2 separate regions of the Homo sapiens genome follow, and region 2 is linked to region 1. Evidence: promoter capture Hi-C in 16 types of primary human blood cells and fetal thymus (Javierre and others, 2016). All regions are on one chromosome and are shown on one strand. Each heading gives the region's core, a stretch centred on a gene start or on the middle of the fragment in contact. The rest is flanking DNA. Distances are from core to core; before and after follow the strand shown. Region 1 holds the start of CDH1 (cadherin 1). Region 2 overlaps HAS3 (hyaluronan synthase 3).

What was found. The method cuts DNA at HindIII sites, captures the fragments that hold promoters and counts their contacts. A CHiCAGO score of 5 or more calls a contact.
Region 2: a contact is called between a fragment that was not itself captured here and the fragment with the promoter of CDH1 in region 1, in 1 of 17 cell types (megakaryocytes). The highest score is 6.0, in megakaryocytes.

The regions. Positions count from the first base shown.
Region 1 is chr16:68,733,188-68,740,371 of GRCh38, forward strand. It overlaps CDH1 (cadherin 1), which reads left to right and starts at 4,105. Exons shown (of 16, transcript NM_004360.5): 1 at 4,105-4,276; 2 at 5,110-5,224. The coding sequence starts at 4,229. It also overlaps a transcript of CDH3 not described here. RefSeq lists enhancers at 1-78, 3,126-3,270, a cis regulatory region at 3,198 and a silencer at 4,151-4,220. The HindIII fragment of the contact is 3,737 bases long and covers 2,010-5,746 here.
Region 2 is chr16:69,112,226-69,119,409 of GRCh38, forward strand. It overlaps HAS3 (hyaluronan synthase 3), which reads left to right. Exons shown (of 4, transcript NM_001199280.2): 3 at 1,216-1,317; 4 at 2,118-5,435. The coding sequence ends at 3,041. It overlaps DERPC (DERPC proline and glycine rich nuclear protein), which reads right to left. Exons shown (of 3, transcript NM_001002847.4): 3 at 5,785-7,184. The coding sequence ends at 6,629. CHTF8 (chromosome transmission fidelity factor 8) reads right to left here. Exons shown (of 4, transcript NM_001039690.5): 4 at 5,785-7,184. Among named protein-coding and RNA genes, the nearest start is that of HAS3, 10 kb to the left of the region's middle. The HindIII fragment of the contact is 163 bases long and covers 4,083-4,245 here.

The DNA.
Region 1 (7,184 bases), core at 2,855-5,354:
CCAGGCTGGAGTGAAGTGGCTCCAGTGCTCAAATGATCCTCCTACCTCAGCCTCCAGAGTAGCTGGGACTACAGGCATGCACTGCCATGTCCAGCTAATTCAAAATAATATTTGTTGGGGAGATGGGGTTTCACCATGTTGCCCAGACTGGTCTCAAACTCCTGGGCTCAAGTAATCTTCTCACCTCCCAACTAGCCTCCCAAAGTGCTGCGATTACAGTTGTGAGCCACCAGGCCTGCTTAGGTATCCCTGTTTGATACAAGAGAAAACAGAGGGCAGGCACAGTGGCTCACACCTGTAATCCCAGCACTTTGGGAGGCTGAGGTAGGTGGATCACTTGAGGTCAGGAGTTTGAGACCAGCCTGGCCAACATGGCGAAATCCCGTCTCTACTAAAATACAAAAATTAGCCAGACATGGTGACGTGTGTCTGTAATCACAGCTACTCAGGAGGCTGAGGCACAAGAATCTCTTGAACCTGGGAGGCAGAGAGTGCAGTGAGCCGAGATCGCGCCATTGCACTCCAGCCGGGGCAACAGAGCAAGACCTTGTCACTAAATAAATAAATAGGAAACAGAGAAGCAATTCAGTGTGTTGCGAAAGTCACACAGCACCTGTCTTCCACAAGGAGCCCCTCTGTGTTCCCGCCTCACCCTGGACACCTGATCTACTGTCTTTGGAGCTTGGAGAAGGACTTGCCGAGAAGTCTGAAGAATGCATCAGGCCTGACCTGACTTTGCTGCCCCTAATTGTTTTCTAAAATCCTTTTTATTGAATTATCAGAGTGTAATGGAAGAGTCGATGAGAGTCGCTGCAGAGTTACGAGGCCAAGGCTTGCTGGGTAGAAGAAAGTAAAGCCCTAAAGGCTCCCAGGGCCCAGCGATGGTATAAAATATGTATTTTTACATAACTGAGAGGAAAAAAATAAGCAGACAGTACAGCCCCATGGGGGAAACGCCTCTTTCTGTATTTCCATTATCTTGTTCAAGGCACGATCCTAGTGGGAAAGGAAATACCGGAGCCTTCTCCCTCTGAGCCTCCTGGTGGGTTAAGAGCAGAGGGAGCCAAAATACGACATCCAAAAGACCTGATTGGAAACTCATTAAAATTGAGGGGACAGGTTGTTGGGGGGGGCGGTGCTGGGCTGCCCAGAAATCGTCTGCATTTGAGAAATTACTTGATGGACTCAGAGGCACCTTTAGCTCTGGGTGAAATATTCCAAACATGGCTTTCCCCAGGAGGAAGCGAAATAGGGGCTGGGCCTTTTGAAAGAGTAACCCCTACTCCAAATATTTATTGAGCAGTTGCTATGATGAGCCAAGAACTCTGCTTAGCGATTGTTTTTGTATTAGCTCATGCCAATTCACTTATACAAAGGAGAACACTGACTTCCCCAAGGTCACAGGGCTAGTGAGTGGCTGACTCCACTTAATGCTGTGTAGTTCTAACCATGCTTGAAGGATAAAGGGAAAGGAGGTGCCCTTGTCGGGGTAGACAAGCCACCCAGACGTGGCTGGCCACAGGGAGTCAGACAGGGAAGTTGTCTAACCTAACATTTGCCTGTCTATTCTGTTTTTGTCTTTTGATGGAGGACGGCGGGTGCTGGAGGGCCACTGGCCCAGGACCTGAGACCTTTGGCCCCTATCTATTCTATTTTTGATCCTAAAATTATTTCACTGGGGACAGAATTCTCTGGAGAAGGTGATGGTGGCCATGGTGTGGCTGTGGCATTAAAAGCCCCACTCTGGGGGTCAGAAGATCCTGGGTTTTGGTCTTTGGCTTTGACATTGACCTGCCTATGTGACATTGAACAAGTTATTTGCAAATCATAGGTTTGGGTGAACTCTAAAGGTCTCTTCCAGGTCAACATCAAAAAACAGACTGAAAACTGCAGCTCCAGCTGGAAGACTGGGACCACATGAGATGAAGCTGATTGTTAGAAGAAAGGCCCTGGAATCAGAGAGGTTGGTTCCAGTCCTGCGCCACCTCTCATTGGCCTCAATCTCTCTAAGCTTCAGTTGCCCATCTATCATATGGGAATAATAATACAGCTCTTGGGTTGTTTTGAAATGAGCTTAAATGAGCTGGTCAGTGGCTGGGCACGGTGGCTCATGCCTGTAATCCCAGCACTTTGGGAGGCTGAGGCAGGTGGATCATCTGAGGACAGGAGTTCAAGACCAGCCTGGCCAACATGATGAAACCCTGTCTCTACTAAAAATACAAAAATTAGCCAGTCGTGGTGGCGCATGCCTGTAATCCCAGCTACTCAGGAGGCTGATAGAGGAGAACCGCTTGAACCCAAGAGGCGAAGGTTGCAGTGAGCCAAGAACACACCATTGCACTCCAGCCTGGGCGACAGAGCAGGACTCCGTCTCAAAAAAAAAAGAGCTGGTCAGTGTCAAATGCTTAGCACAGAGACTGGCACAGTAATCTTCAATGTCCAGCACCTATTGTTACTATTTTTTTTTTTTTTTTTTTTTTGAGACAGAGTCTTGCTCTGTCGCCCAGGCTGGAGTACAGTGGCGCGATCTCGGCTCACTGCAAGCTCCACCTCCCAGGTTCATGCCATTCTCCTGCCTCAGCCTCCCGAGTAGCTGGGACTACAGGCGCCCACCACCACGCCTGGCTAATTTTTTGTATTTTTAGTAGAGACGGGGTTTCACTGCGTTAGCCAGGATGGTCTCAATCTCCTGACCTCGTGATCTGCCCGCCTCGGCCTCCCAAAGTGCTGGGATTACAGGCGTGAGCCACCATGCCTGGCCCTATTGTTACTATTTTTACCCCTCACTTCTGTACAGAGCATTTATGGCTCAAGAAACATTTGTCATTTTAATTGTATGGGAGTCCCACAACAGCATAGGGAGACATTTCTGATCATTATTCCCATTAGGAGGGTGGAGAAACTGAGGCTTTGGGAGGTGGTCCTGACCTAGGGAATCAATTTGCTGACTCACTAACCCATGAAGCTCTACAGTTAAAAAAGACTAGATTAAAAAATGAGAACTCAGTAAAGGGGCTGAGGCAGGAGGATCGCCTGAGTTCAGAAATTTGAGATCAGCCTCGGCAACATAGTGAGATCCCCTCTCTAGAAAAATTTTTTAAAAAATTAGGCCGCTCGAGGCAGAGTGCAGTGGCTCACGCCTGTAATCCAACACTTCAGGAGGCTGAAGAGGGTGGATCACCTGAGGTCAGGAGTTCCAGACCAGCCTGGCCAACATGGTGAAACCCCGTCTGTACTAAAAATACAAAATTAGCCGGTGTGGTGGCACACGCCTGTAGTCCCAGCTACTCAATAGGCTGAGACAGGAGAGTCTCTTGAACCCGGCAGGCGGAGGTTGCAGTGAGCCGAGATCGTGCCACTGCACTCCAGCCTGGGCAAGACAGAGCGAGACTCCGTCTCAAAAAATACAAACAAAACAAACAAACAAAAAATTAGGCTGCTAGCTCAGTGGCTCATGGCTCACACCTGAAATCCTAGCACTTTGGGAGGCCAAGGCAGGAGGATCGCTTCAGCCCAGGAGTTCGAGACCAGGCTGGGCAATACAGGGAGACACAGCGCCCCCACTGCCCCTGTCCGCCCCGACTTGTCTCTCTACAAAAAGGCAAAAGAAAAAAAAATTAGCCTGGCGTGGTGGTGTGCACCTGTACTCCCAGCTACTAGAGAGGCTGGGGCCAGAGGACCGCTTGAGCCCAGGAGTTCGAGGCTGCAGTGAGCTGTGATCGCACCACTGCACTCCAGCTTGGGTGAAAGAGTGAGACCCCATCTCCAAAACGAACAAACAAAAAATCCCAAAAAACAAAAGAACTCAGCCAAGTGTAAAAGCCCTTTCTGATCCCAGGTCTTAGTGAGCCACCGGCGGGGCTGGGATTCGAACCCAGTGGAATCAGAACCGTGCAGGTCCCATAACCCACCTAGACCCTAGCAACTCCAGGCTAGAGGGTCACCGCGTCTATGCGAGGCCGGGTGGGCGGGCCGTCAGCTCCGCCCTGGGGAGGGGTCCGCGCTGCTGATTGGCTGTGGCCGGCAGGTGAACCCTCAGCCAATCAGCGGTACGGGGGGCGGTGCCTCCGGGGCTCACCTGGCTGCAGCCACGCACCCCCTCTCAGTGGCGTCGGAACTGCAAAGCACCTGTGAGCTTGCGGAAGTCAGTTCAGACTCCAGCCCGCTCCAGCCCGGCCCGACCCGACCGCACCCGGCGCCTGCCCTCGCTCGGCGTCCCCGGCCAGCCATGGGCCCTTGGAGCCGCAGCCTCTCGGCGCTGCTGCTGCTGCTGCAGGTACCCCGGATCCCCTGACTTGCGAGGGACGCATTCGGGCCGCAAGCTCCGCGCCCCAGCCCTGCGCCCCTTCCTCTCCCGTCGTCACCGCTTCCCTTCTTCCAAGAAAGTTCGGGTCCTGAGGAGCGGAGCGGCCTGGAAGCCTCGCGCGCTCCGGACCCCCCAGTGATGGGAGTGGGGGGTGGGTGGTGAGGGGCGAGCGCGGCTTTCCTGCCCCCTCCAGCGCAGACCGAGGCGGGGGCGTCTGGCCGCGGAGTCCGCGGGGTGGGCTCGCGCGGGCGGTGGGGGCGTGAAGCGGGGTGTAGGGGGTGGGGTGTGGAGAAGGGGTGCCCTGGTGCAAGTCGAGGGGGAGCCAGGAGTCGTGGGGACGATCTTCGAGGGAAGGAGAGGGGCATCCGTAGAAATAAAGGCACCTGCCATGCCAAGAAAGGTCGTAAATAGGAGTGAGGGTCCCGGGGATAAGAAAGTGAGGTCGGAGGAGGTGGGAGCGCCCCTCGCTCTGAGGAGTGGTGCATTCCCGGTCTAAGGAAAGTGGGGTACTGGAGAATAAAGACATCTCCAATAAAATGAGAAAGGAGACTGAAAGGGAACGGTGGGCTAGGTCTTGAGGGGGTGACTCGGCGGCCCCCTCCCGGGAGTTCCTGGGGGCTCGGCGGCCGTAGGTTTCGGGGTGGGGGAGGGTGACGTCGCTGCCCGCCCGTCCCGGGGCTGCGGGCTGGGGTCCTCCCCCAATCCCGACGCCGGGAGCGAGGGAGGGGCGGCGCTGTTGGTTTCGGTGAGCAGGAGGGAACCCTCCGAGTCACCCGGTTCCATCTACCTTTCCCCCACCCCAGGTCTCCTCTTGGCTCTGCCAGGAGCCGGAGCCCTGCCACCCTGGCTTTGACGCCGAGAGCTACACGTTCACGGTGCCCCGGCGCCACCTGGAGAGAGGCCGCGTCCTGGGCAGAGGTGAGGGCGCGCTGCCGGTGTCCCTGGGCGGAGTAGGGAGGGGTTGGAAAGGGGCCGAGAAATTGCACTCCCACACCCCTGGGTTGCAATGGGCAAGCTCCCTCCTTGGCTCAAACGACACCCCTTGGAATTTACGCAGATTTGGGGATCCAAACGTTTACGACTGAACACTGTGGTGGAGGGGGTAACCCTGCCTGGTTGTTGACTATGTTATAAAGAAGAGGAGGTTGAGGGCACTTACTAGAAGCCTTCGTATTTCTCTTATTGCCCTCAGCACTGTAGAGACAGTCTCTCATTTCAGACTGCAAAAACCTGGTGGGTGGGAAGGCCTGGCAGGAGTATTCCCGTTTTACAGTTGAGCAAACCGAGGCTAAGAGAGTGACGTCCACTTGCTCAGGGTCAGCAGAGCAGATATCTGAACTGGGATCTGACTCCCAGGCCCCATTAAGCACCATCTCTGGGATGACTGAAGAGCAGCCCTCTCTTGGTTACTGGGCTGTGGCTTTTGTTTACAGATATAAAAGCTTTTTTTTTTTTTTTTTTTTTTTTTTTTAAAGACAGGGTCTTGCTCTGTTGCCCAAGCTGGAGTGCAGTGGCACAATCATAGCTTACTGCAGCCTCCATCCTCTGGGCTCAAGTGATCCTTCCCATCTCAGCCTCCCTAGTAGCTGGTTATCATGGGCATGTGCCACCACACCTGGATAATTTTAACTTTTTTTTAGGCTGGGCGCAGTGGCTAACGCCTGTAATCCCAGCACTTTGGGAGGCCGAGGTGGGCGGATCACAAGGTCAGGAGTTCGAGACCAGCCTGGCCAACATGGTGAAACCCCATCTCTACTAAATAAAAATATAAAAATTAGCCGGGCATGGTGGCGTGTGCCTGTAATCCTAGCTACTCAGGAGGCTGAGGCAGGAGAATTGCTTAAACCCAGGAGGCAGAGGTTGCAGTGAGCTGAGATAGTGCCACCGCACTCCAACCTGGGTGACAGAGCAAGACTCCGTCTCAAAAAATAAATAAAAAATAAATTTTTTTTTAGAGACAGGAGTCTCTCCATGTTGCCCATGCTGGTGTTGAACTCTTGGGCTCAAAGGATCCTTCTGTCTCAGCCTCTCAAAGTGCTGGGATTGCAGGCCTGAGAGACTGTGCCTGGACCAAAACATCTTGATACAGGTACTGTTTCCCCCAAGGAATAATGATTTTTTTTTTTTTTTTTTTTTTTGAGATGGAGTTTTACTCTTGTTGCCCAGGCTGGAGTGTAATGGCGTGATCTCGGCTCACTGCCACCTCTGGCTCCCAGGTTCAAGTGATTCTCCTGCCTCAGCCTCCTGAGTAGCTGGGATTACAGGTGCCACCACCATGCCCAGCTAATTTTTTGTAGTTTTAGCAGAGAAGGGGTTTCACCATGTTGGCCAGGCTGGTCTGGATCTCCTGACCTCAGGTGACCCACCTGCCTCAATCTCCCAAAGTGCTGGGATTACAGGCATGAGCCAGCACGCCTGGCCAGGAATAATGATCTTTTTTTAAAAAAAGCATGGTAGTTCTGACTCAGGATGAAAATGCATACACCCAATGTACTTCTAGGCCTTATCGTTGTGACAATCTAGAGTTTGCTTTGTTCCACTTGACTGTTGTCCAGGGAGCAAGGGAAGGGGCTAGTTTCTCTTCTGGTTTCACTGAATCCCAAGTGCTTCCTTTATATCAAACCACTTTCTCCTCTCTCATGATTTTACTTGATTGGGTATCACAATAAGAGGCATTTTTTTTTTAAGAGAAATCACCCACAATTCCCCTGAGGGAACACCTCCACTGTGTCATTCTTCCAGTCTTTGACCACATGAATCTTTAGCAATCACGCTGTTGTCTTTACATTTTTTTTTTGAACTTTGGAAGTCATTCGAAGTTTTTTACAGAGAAACTACAGCTCGACTGATGAAGTATATTTGCTCTGTGTGCTCTAGA
Region 2 (7,184 bases), core at 2,914-5,413, 380 kb after region 1:
CAGAACAGCAGCAGTGCTGGGAGTCTTGGCCTGTAAGTGGAGGAGGCTCTGCTAGTCTGGCCTGAGGCTTCCTGGGCCCTTCCCAGGCATGGACCAGGATGTAAGGATATGCCTGGTGGGGAGGTGGGAAGAAGCACATATGAGGGACTCAGCCTGGTGCTGATGCTGTTCTGATTCCCCCTTAGCCTTCTACTGCTTATCTGTGGCCACCCTGTCTTCCAACATAGAGAAAGCTGGGTGGGGTTGTGGTGTCAGAGGCAGCCTCCTTTCCTGCAGGAATCTTACTCAGCAACTTTAATACAAGGATCTTAGGCTTCTACAGAACAGGGTTTTGGTTTATCTGTGGATCTCTTTGTTGCTCTCCTAACAGTGACCACAGAGTAAATCAGGTCTGTAAACCAGTTCTCCTGGCCAATGCTCACTGGATTTGTGTACCACTTCACTAATTTTTTAGAAACCAGAAAAGGAGTCAGCCACTAGGGCAACTAGTGGCCTGGGTTCAACTCATAATGAGACCACCTGTTAGAATCAGGCCATAAGCCTCCCAAGAGCTGGGCAGAGTTGGCCCTGGGGTCTGCCTGGAGGCAGCTGCTGCAGCTTCCATGCCTATTCAGAGCAGCCTCCAGGGGGAGCCCTCAGCCATACCGTGCCCTGGTCCGAGAGGCTCGGCCAAGGGAGTCTGTTGAGGGCGCAGAGGCCAGCAGCCTTATTACTGGTCTCATAGAGGTGCCTGCAAGTAGGTAGTCTGGTAACCACCAGTGGGCTGCAGGTTGTCCAAGGGGTCAGAGGCTGACACGGGGACCCCTGTGGTTAATTCTGTGGGGTCACTTAAGGCCATATGCAGCCTGTTAGTCCTGGGCTACCCTACTGTGCCTGCCATCTGATTTCAGTGACGTTTCCCTTCTGCCGAAGGACCCCAGAGCAATTTTTTGCGTCCAGTGCTAAGCATGTCTCTCTCCACGCCTGGCACCTACTGTCTTCAGGGTTTCTCCCTCTCAGCCTAGTGGCTGTCAAGTCTGGTAGCTGTACACTTTTACTAGCTTTCATTTTACCTCTGGCACCTTCTGGTAGCGCAGATCTCTTAGCTAGAGGCTGGAAGTGAGTCATGTGTGAAGGGGTCATGTCTCTCAGGCAGTGAGCAGCCTGGCAGTGGGGTGGGGGACAGGGTGTGCAGGTCTGAGGTCAGAATGGGCTGACGACGCACTCCCTCTGCAGGTGTGCGACTCTGACACTGTGCTGGATCCAGCCTGCACCATCGAGATGCTTCGAGTCCTGGAGGAGGATCCCCAAGTAGGGGGAGTCGGGGGAGATGTCCAGGTAAGATGAGACCAGGGATATCTGTGGGGAGGGGTCTGGACTCTTTTTCCTAATCCAATTGGATATGCCTGGGAAATGGGTGTCTTGACTTCCTAGTATTGGGGGGAGGTTCCTCGCTGGCAGTTTTCACTGACACCAAAGAGCTCGCCCCCCTCACTGCCCAACCCCTTTCTTGCTCTTCTTCCACATGAGGGGAAGTCACTTAAACAGGTATGGAGCAGAGTCTATACTGCAGGAGGGGCACAGTATTTTGAGGCCATACATCCTAGAAGGTACTTCCTTTTTGGCCGGTGGTACAGCAAGTAGCTCCAAAGTCAGATCCTTGAGCAGCCCTTGCTCTTAGGAGATGGGCTGAAGAGCTCTGGTCAATACGGTAAGAATAAGGGCCCCAATCTGCCAGAGATACTGAAGCAGCATCCCAGGTCCCCTACAACTTTCCAACCACAGAAATCTCAGGACAGGTGGTTGTGGTGGTGTTTTGCATTCTTCCCAAGCCCCCTTCTCTGCCACCACCACAGGCTGCCTCCTGAGACCGAAGGTGGCTTTGACTGCTAGAGCCACTTAGTGGGGAAAATCTCTGCAGATAAGATGACACAGTAGGGAGGTAGAGCTGGTGCTGGGGACAGGGATTGTGTGTGGTTGGCTCCTCTGAGCCTCAGGTTTCCCAGCTCCAAAGGAACCGATGGCCAGGAATCTAAGCAGCGGGCCACAGAAGCCATGGTAAGGAGGCCTCGTGGTCTCTGATGTCTGTCCTCCGGACGTGCAACCTTAGGAGGCCCAGCATCTCTATTCCCTTGCAGATCCTCAACAAGTACGACTCATGGATTTCCTTCCTGAGCAGCGTGCGGTACTGGATGGCCTTCAACGTGGAGCGGGCCTGCCAGTCCTACTTTGGCTGTGTGCAGTGTATTAGTGGGCCCTTGGGCATGTACCGCAACAGCCTCCTCCAGCAGTTCCTGGAGGACTGGTACCATCAGAAGTTCCTAGGCAGCAAGTGCAGCTTCGGGGATGACCGGCACCTCACCAACCGAGTCCTGAGCCTTGGCTACCGAACTAAGTATACCGCGCGCTCCAAGTGCCTCACAGAGACCCCCACTAAGTACCTCCGGTGGCTCAACCAGCAAACCCGCTGGAGCAAGTCTTACTTCCGGGAGTGGCTCTACAACTCTCTGTGGTTCCATAAGCACCACCTCTGGATGACCTACGAGTCAGTGGTCACGGGTTTCTTCCCCTTCTTCCTCATTGCCACGGTTATACAGCTTTTCTACCGGGGCCGCATCTGGAACATTCTCCTCTTCCTGCTGACGGTGCAGCTGGTGGGCATTATCAAGGCCACCTACGCCTGCTTCCTTCGGGGCAATGCAGAGATGATCTTCATGTCCCTCTACTCCCTCCTCTATATGTCCAGCCTTCTGCCGGCCAAGATCTTTGCCATTGCTACCATCAACAAATCTGGCTGGGGCACCTCTGGCCGAAAAACCATTGTGGTGAACTTCATTGGCCTCATTCCTGTGTCCATCTGGGTGGCAGTTCTCCTGGGAGGGCTGGCCTACACAGCTTATTGCCAGGACCTGTTCAGTGAGACAGAGCTAGCCTTCCTTGTCTCTGGGGCTATACTGTATGGCTGCTACTGGGTGGCCCTCCTCATGCTATATCTGGCCATCATCGCCCGGCGATGTGGGAAGAAGCCGGAGCAGTACAGCTTGGCTTTTGCTGAGGTGTGACATGGCCCCCAAGCAGAGCGGGTAAAGTGCAATGGGTAAGGGAGGGAAGGGGAATGGAAGAGAAAAGACAGGGTGGGAGGGAGGAGGGAGTGCTGTGTTTTAGTCTCTTAATGGTCCAAAGGACAAATCTAAAATGCAAAGAACGGTGATGTAGTATGGCCTGACAGCTCTGTTTAGAGGAGGCAACACTGATCCCCCAGATGCAGGGCTGCAGGGGATTCTGTGTTTTCAGACTGCCTGTCTGCTTGCATCTGCACATAGGCAGTAGCCTCCTCCTGGGCTCCAGAGGGCACTCAGAAGTTGTGCTAAACCAAGTTAAGTCCCATTCAGTGGCAACTTGTGATAGGTACCTGAGTGACGGCAACCTGCGGAAGGAGGTTCTCCCAGCCCATCTGAACACAACCAGAGGTGGCAGGAGAATTTCTACTGAGCGAGCTGGGCCGGTTAGTGTATGTCACCCCCACCCCACCCCTAAGTAGTCATCAATGCAATAAGATTGCGCCTGAGATACAAGGCCCAGAAGCCTGATCTTTGGGCATCAGAAAACAGGGTCCAGGAATGGTGCTTTATGTGAGATACCCCACTCCACATCAACATTCCAGGGATGAGCCAAACCAGCAGGGAGTTAGCACTGAACTGCTTTTAAAAGTGCACATTAAAAAGGAAAGTTTGCCAGGAGGAACAAAGAGATTGTGGTGGTGCTAAAGGAGGCCATAAGCTACACAGAGGCCTTGGGTGTTCCACCTGGAAACTGCTCAGACGTCTAGATGGGTTCTTAGCTTGTCTGTGATCTCTGCTGGGGAGATAAAAAGATTAAGCCCCAACATGTTCAGAAAAGAAGTGAAGTCTTGGGTATTTTAACCTGTATACTCTTGAATTCCTCTCAAATTCAGCTCTGATCTGAGGCTAAGACACACTCCCCACTTCACTTTCTTCAAAGCCACATTTTTTGAGGTATCACTGCAGTCACCTCTTCTACCCTCATCATCATAGGTAAGGTTTTCAAGGTGGCAATTGGGGCGGAGCCCCGGCTCTTATAGAAGCTTCAGCAGGAGGCAAGCGTGTTCTCAGCACATATGGGAACTATGAGGAGCCTCTGATCAAATTGGCTACAATCTTGGAGCTGCTTGGACGGATTCCTTGGCAGCCGGGTTAGCATGTGTGACTTTCAGGCTACTGTTCTTGACAATCATCTCCAATGGAAAGCTTTTCAGTGTTCCCAAAGTGAACTCTCAAATCCAAAATGGTTATCTTTGAGACCATCCATTCTCCTCAGTGGCTTCTCCAGGGAATTCTTACAGCCAAGTTGTGACAGTCACTGCATTTGCCTGCTTCTTTCCAGAAACCAAACTAGGAGATGAAACTGGTTCCTACATCCTAAGGTTCTTGCTTTCTCTCTCATGCCTCCTGAGGCTGTTTTTGGCTGTTTTCCCTCTGCTGCTTTTGGGGAATGAGGGGAAGCCATTTTCCAGTGACTTGCAATCCAGGCTGTTCTCAGCGTTTTGAGTTTAAAACCTGGGATCCTGACTAAGCCTTTGACTTAAGGGTTGCTTGCTTGCCCTCCAAATGTCCTTTCTCAGAGGGGCCAGCTAACCCGTGCAGAACCAGCACTAAGGTGGACAGCAGACAAGAGGGCAAGCCTCTAGTGTACCAAGTGCTTCCTACAAAGACGCAAGGTGTGCTCTGAGCCACAGATGGGCAAACCCTGGTGCTTTCCTTCATCTCCCACGAACTCAAGGGTTTTCCAGGTGTAGCTAACAGTTGCCACATCACACAGACCTCGAGTTTCTGGTAAGACTGCTGGTTGACATCAGACCCAACCCATGAAGGCTGGAAGGCAGCAGGCATTTGCTAAGGCAGCTGATCCAGGCAATCGTTCTGCTGGCCAAGAAGTTAAACTATTTTGAGCATTAGAATGGAGGAAATCCGGTCAGCCAAGTGCAGAGTTCAGACTTCGCTAAGGGCTTGTTTTTCTTCAGCATTTACTTGAAGATTAATGTAGGATGACAGGCTCTCCTGGCTGTCCTACCATCAGCTCTGCCTTGCACTGTGGTCGTCAACTTTCCTCAAATCAAAAACAGGCAGGTACAGGTAGTGGGCTCACAACGTTTGACCTCGACTGGTTTTTCTAAGTTATTTTGTACATTTTTCAGCAGCAAAACCAAACTGGGTCTTCAGCTTTATCCCCGTTTCTTGCAAGGGAAGAGCCTTTATACAATTGGACGCATTTTGGTTTTTCCTCATTGAGAATTCAAATCCTCTTTTGTATTGTTTCTACAATAATTTGTAAACATATTTATTTTTACCTGCTTTTTTTTTTTTTTTTAATTTTCAGGTCAAGTTTTTTATACTGCACTTATTTGTCAAAATAAAGATTCTCACATATGCCGGTTATCTCGAAACTACTACTTTGTATTTAATGAAAGCTAGCTCTTTATTCCAGTTTCCAAAGAGGGACTTAAAATAGAAAGTTTAGTCAGGTGGGACTCAAGACCTGGGCAATATGTCCATCCTGGTAACTACACCCATGGGGGCTTAACTTTTAGTGTAGAGGGTCTTTGGTGAAATAACTAACTGGCAGATGAATGGGCCCTTGCTAAGACTAAAAACCAAAGCTTGCTTCCTCTTGGAGCAAAAGCATTTTAGCCGACATGATGTAAGACTGTAGCCAAGCTGAAACAATGAAAAGCAGAGGAAACTTCCTTCCCTATGAAACAGGTAACAAAACACAGTGACACCAGCAGCCCTCTCATCCCATTTATTAAAGAAACAGTAAGAAAAGATACAATGCAGGAAAACCACCAACCATCCTTGCACACCAGGCCGAACAAAGCACAGTGATTTCTTCCCTTCATCCCCCACCCCCACCCTAATTCCCATATTCCCATCCACATCAGTTTAAATTTTGAGGTTCTTTGATTGATTGGGAGTACCAGTGAAGAGGGAGTTGGATGAGTAGAGGGGCCTTAAATCTGGCCACCTCTAAGTCCCAGGAGAAGGGAGCTGCAGGCCCAGTCAGTCAAGCAGAAACTGCATTCGGTGGGTCTTTCTTTGAAGTGGTTGTCCATCTCCCTGTTCTGTGTTCAAGCCCCCAGGGAAAGGTATGGCAGTAGAGGATGACCAGGTCCAAGCTGCCCAGGTCAGAGCTACGGAAGCATGGTCCGTTCACCAACGCCACGTTTCTAGAGAGCAGTGAGCTGATTCTCCAATGGTGAGCAGGGGACTACATGTGAACTGGGACCTGCAGGCCAATGTATCCCTGAGGAAAAGTCCACAAGAACAATTCAAGAAACTAGTAAGAAACAATGGGCAGAAAGCTGTGGGACGAAAGCACAGCAGGCTTCTGGGAGGCTGGAGATCCTTTCTCTCAAGGGCAGGATTATTCCCACCTGCCACAGTTCACATGCCACAAATAACATCTCACCTTCAGTCAAGAAAAACGCAAAGGAAAAAGATGGCTCATTTGAACTTGAGCCCAAGCTATGTTCTTCAGACTGTAGCTCCACAACTACCCTTTTACCTAAGACAGCCCCTGCCAAGAACCACAGTGCCTAGAAACCAAGGTGGTCCTGGAGGGAAAATGGTGTTTAAGGGGGCAACATTCCATTTGGGTACATTGCAGCCATTGGACCCCCTGGTCTGGGGAAAGCAGCTGGGTTTGTGCCAGGGAGGCTCCCCACTCTAGGAAATGGGACGAAACTCTTGCCTGCAGGGCCATTCATCCTTGGAAAGGAAGCTGGGTTGAGACCCAGGGTCCCAGTTGGCCTTGTGAAAGGAGCTGGGTTGATACCCACAGGGCCAGCTGGAGAAGGGCCCAGATGCCCGGCAGCTGGCCTGGGGAAAGTAACTTGACCAGGGCCTAATGGGCCAGTAGACCTTGGGAAGGTAGTTGGACTTGGACCCTGCAGGCCAGTGGCCCTTGGGAAGTTAGCTGGGTTGGGGCCAAGTGGCCCAGAGGCTCTTGGGAAAATGGTTGGATTTGAGCCCTGGAGGCCAGCGGACCTTTGGAAGGTAGCTGGGTTTGATGCCAATGTGCCAGAAGACTGAGAAAAGGCAGATGAACCTGCTCCCCTGGGAAAGGGATTGGCATTTACCCCCATGGGGCCAACTGGCCTTGAGAAATGAGCTGAATTAGGGCCTATG